Linked DNA regions of Homo sapiens: regions 1, 3 and 4 are each linked to region 2. Evidence: promoter capture Hi-C in 16 types of primary human blood cells and fetal thymus (Javierre and others, 2016). All regions are on one chromosome and are shown on one strand. Each heading gives the region's core, a stretch centred on a gene start or on the middle of the fragment in contact. The rest is flanking DNA. Distances are from core to core; before and after follow the strand shown. Region 1 holds the start of LIMD1-AS1 (LIMD1 antisense RNA 1). Region 2 holds the start of CLEC3B (C-type lectin domain family 3 member B). Region 3 overlaps LIMD1 (LIM domain containing 1). Region 4 overlaps LARS2 (leucyl-tRNA synthetase 2, mitochondrial).

What was found. The method cuts DNA at HindIII sites, captures the fragments that hold promoters and counts their contacts. A CHiCAGO score of 5 or more calls a contact.
Region 1: the fragment with the promoter of LIMD1-AS1 here is called in contact with the fragment with the promoter of CLEC3B in region 2 in 2 of 17 cell types (fetal thymus and naive CD4 T cells); the score reaches 5.5 in fetal thymus.
Region 3: a contact is called between a fragment that was not itself captured here and the fragment with the promoter of CLEC3B in region 2, in 1 of 17 cell types (erythroblasts). The highest score is 6.0, in erythroblasts.
Region 4: a fragment that was not itself captured here is called in contact with the fragment with the promoter of CLEC3B in region 2 in 1 of 17 cell types (erythroblasts); the score reaches 5.6 in erythroblasts.

The regions. Positions count from the first base shown.
Region 1 is chr3:45,687,548-45,690,247 of GRCh38, reverse strand. It overlaps LIMD1-AS1 (LIMD1 antisense RNA 1), which reads left to right and starts at 1,366. Exons shown (of 3, transcript NR_033947.1): 1 at 1,366-1,872. SACM1L (SAC1 like phosphatidylinositide phosphatase) reads right to left here and starts at 852. Exons shown (of 20, transcript NM_014016.5): 1 at 751-852. The coding sequence starts at 782. TRR-ACG2-1 (tRNA-Arg (anticodon ACG) 2-1) reads left to right here and starts at 1,177; the gene lies at 1,177-1,249. RefSeq lists a silencer at 661-840 and enhancers at 871-1,160, 1,421-1,470, 1,981-2,050. The HindIII fragment of the contact is 5,339 bases long and covers 1-2,700 here.
Region 2 is chr3:45,025,041-45,027,740 of GRCh38, reverse strand. It overlaps CLEC3B (C-type lectin domain family 3 member B), which reads right to left and starts at 1,438. Exons shown (of 3, transcript NM_003278.3): 1 at 1,270-1,438. The coding sequence starts at 1,378. RefSeq lists enhancers at 57-556, 557-1,058. The HindIII fragment of the contact is 8,892 bases long and covers 1-1,751 here.
Region 3 is chr3:45,669,727-45,672,426 of GRCh38, reverse strand. All of the region lies in intron 4 of LIMD1 (LIM domain containing 1), which reads right to left. Among named protein-coding and RNA genes, the nearest start is that of LIMD1-AS1, 18 kb to the left of the region's middle. The HindIII fragment of the contact is 418 bases long and covers 1,223-1,640 here.
Region 4 is chr3:45,547,236-45,549,935 of GRCh38, reverse strand. It overlaps LARS2 (leucyl-tRNA synthetase 2, mitochondrial), which reads right to left. Exons shown (of 22, transcript NM_015340.4): 22 at 529-2,585. The coding sequence ends at 2,406. Among named protein-coding and RNA genes, the nearest start is that of LARS2-AS1, 39 kb to the right of the region's middle. The HindIII fragment of the contact is 2,249 bases long and covers 326-2,574 here.

The sequences.
Region 1 (2,700 bases), core at 117-2,616, 660 kb before region 2:
GTTGTTTTTAATCCAAGACAAACCAAAACCCTTAAAAACACCTATTTTATAACTCTTAACAACCACAGCCTCTGTATCAAAGACTCAAGAACTTGGATTTACCGAAAAGTCAATTTGCAGTACCAAAATTACCGAGATTAGCCTCTGGCTGTCGACACTGACTTAAGAACCTGCTTTAGGCTGGAGCTGTTTAAAATTTAAACCAAAGTAAACTCCTTCAGGACCTTAAGACTACTGACTGTACTTTAAATTTTTTCTGCACACTGAAGAGGGGGCAGGCAGGCTTCGGTACCCAGATAGGCTGTAAGCAAAACAAAGATTTGTTGATTTGTGCGTAGACTCTAAATTGCTGCTGTAGGTCCGTTAAGTAAGAGAAAACTCTTTTTCTCTGTTAAGTCATACAGATAAATTTAGTCGGTAGCTCTGCATAGAAAGTGGGGACAAGCGTGCCCTGAAGGGCCGCATCATAACGCCGACCCCGGCTCGGTGGGGGCCAGTCGGCAGCTTCTCTCTTCAGCCGTGGGCGCTGGGGCCGAGCACGGTGGAGAAAGGCCGGCGAGCCGCTGGTTCCCGGCCTATGGCTACTCGGGCGAGGCCTAGGAGAGGCCGCGCCGGCTGAGGAAAACCGGTAAATGCGAGGAGCTCCCACACCCTATCTGCAATCCGGGACTCAGAAGCCCTCCCCGAGGCCAGGGCCCGCACCTGCCGCCCCGCCCGCCGCGCCTCAGGCCTCTGGCCCGTGGGACTCACAGCTTCAGCTGCTCGTAGGCCGCCGTCGCCATCCTGCACAACCACCTCCTTCCTTCTCTCTCCGCCCGCCCCGCCCCGCGCCGCCACCTCGGCTACAACTCTACCGGTCACCCTGGCACAGCGGCCGCAGCTCCCAGCCTCTTCCCACCCCTTTCCCCGCCCCGCAGGAGAGCCGGCCTGAACGGGAGGCGGTGGAGGACAAATTAGTGCGCAAGCAAGAGCACGCGAGAGATGCCGCCGACGCGGCGGGTTGGAGTGCGACGAAGAGCGCCGTGACGAAGCCGCTGCGGATTGGTGGGGCGCGTTTTGGGGAAAGGCAGAGCAGCGGGAGCGCGGCGCAAGGGCAAAATGGATCGTTGGTACCCGGAAGCCCGTTCAAACTGTATAAGGGTGATCAGCTATCACGGAGAAGGCTTTAGCAAGTCGGGGCCAGTGGCGCAATGGATAACGCGTCTGACTACGGATCAGAAGATTCTAGGTTCGACTCCTGGCTGGCTCGCGATGTCTGTTTTGCCACACTTGACCCATGTACTACTGGGTCTTGTAAAGATGTATATTCACAATGTGAAAGTATTACAAGACCTTGGAAAGGTGTATGGTTAGAATGTGAAAGTTAAATATCTGAAATTTTGATGCCGCTTTGCTCACAATGTCATCCTTTATCCTTTAAACCTGGAGTTGTCTGAGGTGGTTTGCAAACTGCAAAGCGCCCTGTTCCCAATGATGCACCTGAGAAGTCTGTAAATGGGGTAAATTTAGGCAAACACACCTGGAAAAGTGGCATTTTGGAGTGGGGAATGCTGTGGCCGGAGGTTAGCAACCGGATGATGCAAAAGCGTATTTAAGGCAGCAGTTCTGGCCTTTCCCCGCCACGGAGCAGAAGCCCCCATAGTGATGTGAGAAGCGGCGCTGTCCCAGTTTACTAGGATGGGATGGGCTTTGGATCTAACCAGCAGCGAAGAAAACCTGCGGTGCGGCTGCGCTCGGTAGTAGGGGTCCACAAAGCGTCAGAATCTGCAGCAGCCCCGGCCTTTGCGAGCTCCAGCTCCGAAGTCAACCCGGCCCCCAAATTCCACTGGGAAACCTTAAGACACCGGTGTTTTTACCGTAAGAAGACCTCAGGTAATCTAGTATATTACCCCTCATTGTATGGATGCGCGACTTGGACACCCGAGAAGGCGCGAAACGTCTGCGGCCTAAAGGGACTCGAACCGGGGGATTATATGAGTCATCGGACACTGTCCGTTAACCAATCACTCAATCGATCAATTAATTTCCGCAACATAACGTTTTCCCCTGATAAAATTATAGATTTTTAAAATATATAAAATTATTGGGAATATTAACGCGATTCCCACCCTAAATCATTACTATTATTTTTTTTTTCCTTAAAGCCTTTTTTTCTTCTATATTTTTTAACATGGGCATACTTGCACATGTGTTTTTCCAAATTGGGGTTGTACGGAAATGGGTTCCTCATTTTGTCTCCTTACCTTTTTGTCTGAGATTTAAGGTCATTAAATATTCTTTGAAGATATTTCATCAGAGAGCTAGATATTTTAAGCAGAATCCTTATGCTGGGAATTTGGGTGGTTGTCAGTTTAACACCTAGAAAAAATGATGCTGCTTAGGAGTTCGAGACCAGCCTGGGCAACATAGCAAGACCTCATCTCTATTTACTAAATAAATAAATAAATTTTAATTAGCCAGGTGTGGTGGTGTGCACCTATAGTCCTAGCTACTCAGGAGGCTGAGGTGGGAGGATCACCTCAGCCCAGGAGGTTGAGGCTGCAGTGAGCTGTTACCATGCCACTGCACTCCAGCCTGAGCAACAGAATGAGACCCTGTGTTGAATTATTATTATTTTGAGACGGAGTCTCGCTCTGTCACCCAGGCTGGAGTGCAGTGGCGTGATCTCGGCTTACTGCAGTCTCTGCCTCCCGGGTTCAA
Region 2 (2,700 bases), core at 189-2,688:
TTAAATGAACATTTTGTGGAAGGTAATATACACACATAATTTTTTAAAATCCAAACAGTTCAAAAAGCTGGTTTCTTTCCCAGTTGAGACTGCGCCCAGCCCCTGGTTTTTCTTCCCAGAGGTAATCACTGTTACTCACTCTTGTGGATCCTTCCAGAAAGAACTTATGCACATACAAGTAAAAATGTATTATTATATAAATCCCTTTTTCAAAGCAAATGTCAGCATCATACTCATTCTCTTTTGAATGTTTCTTTTTTCACTTTGTAAACTGAATCTTGAAGATGATTTTTTTATCAGCAGCCAGATTTGCCCCATTCTTTGTCACAGTGTTGTGAGGCCCCATGGCCCCGATGTCCCTTTATGCACTGCACTAGTTCCTGGCCAGTGGGCAACTGTCCATTTATGAAGAGCCCCGGGAGGGCCTAAGGGAGGCCCCCACAGCCCCTTCTTTCCTTTTCTGTGCCCTTGGTCCTAGCTGCTTGTTTCTCTGCCTCAGTCCCCACCCTCATCCCCTTGGACTCTCTTCTAGCCTCTGCTCCCTGGGGGGGTGACAGCCCCGTCCATTGCCATGACATTCCACTGATGTTGTCTCAACACAGCCTGGGGTGACCTCACTGCAGGCGGGGCTGCAAGGGCAAGTCTTGCTGTAGCCAAAGCAACCGAGGGACACCCCAATCCCCAGAGGCTACAAAGCAGAGCAAAGCTGCTTCTGGTGGACTAGTCTGAGTTACATTTATTTCCTGAAGGCTGTGATATGCTACAGAAATGAGAATTCATTTCTTCTTCTTTTTCTTTTCCCTGTGCATCAAGCAACAAGTGAGGTGCCTTTATATATTTTGTATCATAAAATCTTCATGAGAAGTCTTTGAACAAATACCACTGTCCCCATTTTACAGTTGAGAAAACAGGTTGGAAGACTCCAAAGCCCAGCCTGTGCAGCTCTCCCTGGTAAGGGCTGAGCGCTGCCAGACTCCCAGGCCAAAGGTTTGGTTTCTTTAAAATATTGGGGATGAGGGGAGGAGAGAAGAGCAAAGATCAGTTTGGATGATCTGGAAGGTTCTTCCCAACTCTAAGGGTCAGGGATTCTTATGATTCTGACAACCAACTCTGCTATGAGAGAACTCCCCCAAGCCCCAAAGCCCACTTTACTCAAGTTCCCTAGATGACTCAAAAGGAGGAAAATGAAGGAAAGGAGCATGAGGACACACTAAGGAGAGGGGGACCTGCTCCCTGGAAGATGGCACAGGGCTCTGTCCCCCTCCTTACCTTTCTTGGCATTTACAATCTTCTTGGGCTTCTGGGTTGGTGGCTCGGTGGTGACCTGGGTCAGGAGGGAGAAGAGGCAGAGGAGGAGGTAGGCCCCCCAGAGCTCCATGCTGCTGCGCGGGCGGGGGCTGCTGCTGCCTGCAGCGGGTCTGGGTCCGAACGCAGTGACAGCCACGGCCCAGGCTGCACGTCTTAAGGCAGCAGCCAAAGGACCTCTGTCCAGGAAACCCTCCCCAACTTGGCTGCAGGCGTGCCAAAAAAATAAAACAAACACACAAGCCTGCAGAAGGATGAAGTCCTGAGGGCCACAGAGCCTCTCTGCCAGGGAACACCCACGCAGCATCCTGGCCCTGCCTTCTAGAAAGAAGCCCTTATTTCCTAGGATTCTGAGAAACACACGGTGGTTGTCATCACATCTGCGGAGCAGCTACCTTGGGTAGGGGCTGAGGCTGGCTGTTCACTAACATTAACTCACAGAAGCTTCACACCCAAACCACGAGGGAAGCACTGTCCTTTCCCCATTTTACCATTGAGGAAATTGAGGCTCGGTGAGGTTAGGGAATTTGCCCAGGCTACCCAGCTGTCACGGGGTAGCAATGCCCCCTTATAGGGTGATCTGGGGCTGGCTGTCTGATTGGTTTAGAATATTTGTTATGATTATTTTGTGGCTCTGTCTCCATGTACTTGATGCATTTTTTGGTTAAAAAATCCAAGGGATTCCTTCCCTTCTTGTCTTCCCTTTCTCCTGAGTCCTGTCCTAAAGCCACAAAGTGGGGCATAGCAAAGGTGGCGGAGGGAGAAGCCATCGTGCCCCAGAGGTACCAGAGAGGATGTGGGGAGAATGTGCCCTCAAGGGGTGGACTGGTGTGGGGTGTGGGAGCCCAGCAGGGTGGAGGGAGCATCCTGGGGAAAGCAAAGGCCCTGCCTGGAGTGCTGGAGTCCAAGTGAGGCAAGGAGGGGATCCATGTGGGAGAGAGGCTGGTGGCAGAGACGGGAGATTGGTTACACACAGGGATACTGATCAAATAAATCTACTGAAGACAGTGGGAGTTAGGTTTCCTATTGTCAGAGAAGGAAGTTATGTATATGGAGAGAAAACTGGAATGAATCCTGTTGTGTGGGATTAAAATCGGAATGATCAGTGTACCCTTGTGGCCTTGAATACATAAAGATAAGTCCATATATATAGATGGAAATGTGTGTGTGTCTAGTCCCCACAGTCACTGGGGGGCCTGGAGCAGCCAGCCCCGCATAGCCTGGAGCACTCCTAGCACCTGAATACTGGCTTCTGAATATGACTTTCCACTAAAGGAACCAGAGCACCTTGCAGAAACGGCTGATTCTAGCACTGGGAAGTAGGAGTGGGGTGCAGAAAATGAGCCCGGAACTTGTTGTTTTGCCAGAAAACAAGGAAGTGCTTAATGAATAATG
Region 3 (2,700 bases), core at 182-2,681, 640 kb before region 2:
TTCCAACCCTCACCCAGAACAGGAAACTCTTGCATAGTTCTTTAAGAGAAAGAGATGGTAAGGAAGGGATGGGCCAATCCCAGGGCCAAAATCCACCACGAAGAAGTGGGAAACGATGCAAAGCAGGGCCACAGAAGGATACATCCTTCCCAGATTTGGGAAGCAGCAAGTACTCGGAAAAATGAAAAGAAATTCCATGTGGAAATGGCAGAGCTCAAAAGGAACCCCTTCACTTCTGCCTCTTGGATGCCCCTTCTATGCAGCTTTGACTCTGGAGCATGATAATCTAGAAGTTCTGACTCAACCCAATGACCTCAAATCCAAGTGTAATAAGTAAAGTTTCTCTGTTGTTGTTTTTAAACGCAATAGAGGGAAAGCCCCACAAACTTCTTCCTCTCAGTGTCATTTAATCTGGATCTGGATGGGATACCTGGAACTGCCAGAGCCAACCTGAAACCAGGACAGACCCAAGACATGGACAGCAGGAAAGAGAAGAGATGGAAAGAACATCCTTGGTGAGGTCCGTAAGTAACTGAATTAACTCATCATGGAACCACATACCTCCAAGCCTCTTTTTAGGTGAGATAAAATATCATTCCTATGAAGTCAGTGGTCCTCGAAATGTGTGTGGCCCCAGACCTTCAGCATTAGCATCACCTGCAAACTTGTTAATAATGCACATTCTTGGACCCCATCCCAGATTTCTTGAATCAGAAACTCTGGGGGTAAGGCCCAGCAGTTGGTATTTTAATAGGGTGATTCTGATATATATTAAAGTTGGAGGATCATTGGTTTAACTCGAACTGAGTCTGGGTTTTTTCTATAATTTGCAGTTGAAAGCATCTTCACTGACTTAATAGGAGATTCATTTCTGCAATTACCTGCATCATGAAACTTAGCAAAAACAACTGAACTACAGAATCAACATGAGCAAGGTCACACCAAAACATGCATCTGCAAAGAATGTACAGAACGGTCATCAGCATCCAGCAGTGGGAGCCCACACAGAAAGCCTTCAAACAGGCTGAAGAAAGGGGATTTTGGATTTGGGGAAGCCTTGTCAGTACACTGTGAGACCCAGGGGTAAAGATATGCTGTGTTACAGCTCCTTCCCCTGGAAGCCTCAGGCGGATAACTCCACACTGCACAAGCTCCAGCCAAGAAGGCAAGAGGAGGGCGTTGTGCTATTCCAGCTTTCCTCTGAATGCTCAGCTTTCAAGCTTCCTCATTCCCTCTTGGGTTTCCCTAACCTTTGAGGGCCCTCTCAATCTGCAGTAAGGCAAAACAGGAAGAACAACTGGCTGGGCTTCCAAAACCCATTTGGCAATTTGGACCTTGGAATGCATTTTCCCCAAGATGAATGCTGTCTTGGCAGAAAGAGATCCTTAAATTAATTTAATCCACATTGTGCCTAAAGTAAGATTAGAAAAAGATGCCATTTTGCTGCATTGTGACTAGCTGTAATACTTTTTTTATGTGAGACTATGCCTGGTTCTAACCTGCAAGCCCAGAATGTACCCCTCTATTAACAAAAGGGTATATAGAGAGACAATTTACACAAAGAGTTAGACAGCTGGGGTTCTGTCTAGACATTCACTAAAAGTTTTCAAGTCCTAGGGAAGACCTGAAAGACTGAAGCTTCAACTTCATACTATCCCATATGGTAGAGATCTCACATCAAGAGATGGGGACTATTTCCCCCTCCCCTTGAATCAGAACTGGCTTTGTGACTTTCTTTAATTAACAGAAAGCAGAAGAAACAATGTTCTGAGATTTCTGAGTCAAAGGCTTAAGAAGACTGGTAGCTTCCACTTCCTATCTCTTGCTGTAAGGAAGTCTGAACTAGACTACTGAATGATTAGAGGCTACAGGGAGAGGGGCCTGGAGGGTGAGAGGTCATCTTGGATGTTCCAGTTCAACTGTGCTACCAGCTGAACAAAGTTAAGTAGGAGACCCCAGCCAATGCCACACAGAGCAGAAGAATTGGCCTGCTAAACCCTGACCTAAATCCTGACCCACAGCATGAAGCATGATGATAAATAAGAAATCACTATTGTTTTAAACTACAAAGTTTTAGGGTGGTTTGTCATGCAGCAATAGATAAATGACATACCCTGAGGTTATCCAAAGAAGTCTTAGGATTACTAGAACTAAGAATAGGGTATAATCATACTCATAAATTCAGAGCATGTTGACTTCATATGAAGTAGGTTTGTCAGAAGGACACTAAAAACAAAGGCAAATTCTGCTAAAGAAATAGAGCCCTACAGAGTCTAGAAGATACCTGGGAAGGAGAGGTAAGCATATGTAGCTTCTGCCTACCTCCCACTGCGAGCATGGGGGAAGGGCCACGTTTCCCAGGGAGGTCTTGGCTACTAATGAGGACATGGCTCTAATAGGGCTAAGACCTCTGCTGAGGTCTGTCAAAGCCTGGGAGATAGCAGATATTCATCACGAATGGGGAGGGCTGTGGGTCACTGATGTTTTATAAATATTAGCATATAACCAGCAGAAATGAGTGTTTATGTCCATCAAAGACATGTTCAAGAGTATTCACAGCAGCTTCATGCATAAATAGCAAAAAACTAGAAACCACCAAATCCCCATCAACATGAGATGGAGAAATAAATTGTGCTATATCCATACAATGGAATTCCACTTAGCAATACAAATCAATAAACTACCAATACAGGTAACAGC
Region 4 (2,700 bases), core at 201-2,700, 520 kb before region 2:
AAACGTGGAGGACAGAAGATGTGGGCTTGGATCCCAGTTCTCCTACTTATTAGCTGTGAAAACTGAGACAATTATTGAACCTCAGAGCCTGGGTTTCTTCTTTTATGAGAGAATAATTCCTTCCCTCTAGAGTTTTTGTGGGAATTAAATAAGATAATTATTGTGAACCTGCTGAGTCCAGTTTCTGACCTCAACAAGACAGTCAATAAATGGCTGAGATTATTCCCCACCACCTCACTCCCAGGGGTCAGAGTTTTCTGTCCAGTTGTTCCATTACCCATACTGTCTCTTAGTATGTACTGATGAGCTCTTGTTTGCAAAAGCTTTATCCTCTTGGAGCAATTTCTTCAGAGCCATGCTGGTGTCAGCCAGCTGGTCAGTCTAGCAGCCTTGAGGCTTTACTGGCCCATTGCTCTGGTCAGATCACATGCAAATAAAGGGCTCCCTTCCCTCATCTTGTTCAAGACCACTTAGCTTACTAGGAAATAACAAGATAATCAAAATCACTCACTCCTTCCTTGTACCAAATATTTTCATGGGCTTATATTTAATCCATATTCACTGCCATGTGCAATGAGACTGAGTACATTCAAGTCGGCTCTAGCACTCTAGACTTCTGGCCCCTGTCTTCCCTTTTGGTCCAACTCTTGGTCCTGGACCAAACTTATCCCCGCTAACCTGAAGATTAGGAAGAGGAAGAACTAGATAGAAATGATGGCTCAAGTGCATCAATGTGTCCAGTGATTCTCAAACTTTGCTGCCCATTAGAATCACTTGTGGAGTTTTAAAGATTCCTGGTGTTCAAGCCACACCATGGACCAATTAAATTGGAATATCTGGGCATGAGGACCAGGCAGAGTATTAAGTCTGAGAACCAGTGACTTAATTGCTGTTGCTAGTTTGCCTGTATCAGTGTTGTCTACCATGGACTGTAAGTTCTGGAACAAGAAGAACCACATGTATCCCACTTTATAGCATTCCATGTGGAGTCAGACACACAGCCAATGCTTCCGATGATGATGGAATACCTCAATCTGTTTGTAATTAACTCTGAAATTGGAATATGGTGTATTCCAGGATCACACATATGTCCTGAAGTCATAGATGATAAACATTTTATTACACTAAAAAAGTCATCTGTTAACTGCTGAACTGCAGGGGGACCACATGTGAGGCTACTTCAGAAAAATGGCATCAGATAACATATATAGATTTCTGGCATTATAAAATGGCTAGATTCTCCCCTACCTTCCCTCATTAAATATTAATCAGTGGCTTAGGTCAGTTCTAGTGGGAACACTTAATTGCTGACTTCACATAAAACCAGGATTAGCCTAATGTGCCAATGGTATGAGTCCATTCCTGGCCATCTTCCCAACAGCCAGACCGCTGTGGCTTGGACACCGGAGGCAACATCTGGGGGGCCTCAGTTCCACTCCTCTGTGGTGAGCTTGCTCTTCCTAATAACTGGCTCTGGAGTCACATCAACAATGGTGGCATTGCCATCTGGGGCCCACATGAGCCCTCTGGGGCGTGCTGCATCCCTACTGGGCTGCGGTGGGGCTCTGAGGTTGGGACCAGCAGCCTGAGCCTGGTTCCACTTCACTACACAGCAAATTGTATACCCAAGGGAGTGGTTATGACTTGCTGCTCCTCATTCATGTGAGGAAGTGGTGCCTTGCCTGGGATCCTGTGTGTCAGAACCACAGCAGGCCTGGGAGGCACATCCAGCTGGGGTTGGGGAGGACAGGCCTGCATGACAGAGCTGGGGAGTGGTGGGGACACAGGCAGAGGAACCAGCACTGCCTGCCTTTTGATTCAAAGCAACTTCAGAAGATCCCTGTGTCCATTTCCACATATTGGTTATTTGAACATTTCCTAAATGACTTCCTCATCCAGCCTGAAGGCAAAGAGACCATTCACTACCATCTGGAGGCTCAGTTAGCAGTTCCAAGTGGCTGGCACATTGCACCTGAGTCCTGCAGTTCCTCAGGCTGGCCTCAAATTCCCGAGAAGTGCCTAAGGCAGAGCCATTTCCCAGATCCGCAGGCTTCCTGGCTGCTCGAGGGGCACTGCTCCTTCCTGCTCCCACCAGCAGTGTCTCTGATGGCTTCCCATGGGATCAGATGGCCTCCTCTACCTGCAGTGTGGGTGGGGGGTGAGGGGCAGGATGTCCAACCCCCTCCTCAGTAGCTCATATTTCTCCTTTGCCCAGCTCACCTTCACCCCAGCACCAGGCCACACTACAGAGGCACACTGTTGACTGCAGTCTGCCACAGGACCGAGGTCAACAGTCAAGACATTTGTCTTTTCCCTTCCCCTGGGCCAGCAGACATCGCCCCCTCATCCCAGGCCTGGAAGGAGGTTCCTCAGAGGCCCTCGTGGTAGCTGCAGCCTCCTGGCTGTCAATCTTGCACCAGGAAGTTGATGAGGGCAGTTCTCGGGGAAAGGAAGGACTTCTTGATGCTTCGTCCTTGCAAAAGCCTGACACCCAGCTCGCTTTGAAGAACAAATTCGTGGACTTTGTCCTGGTCCCGGGCAACTTGTTGGGGCACAGGAATTTTGCCACAAGCTTTATTGTTGATCTGAGAAGGAGAAAAGCCAAGATAAACAATGAGGAACATCCTCAGAGTGGCAGGCGGCCCAATACCAAACCTCCTGCCTGTAAAGGGCATGGCTGCATTTGTTTAGGGGAAAGGA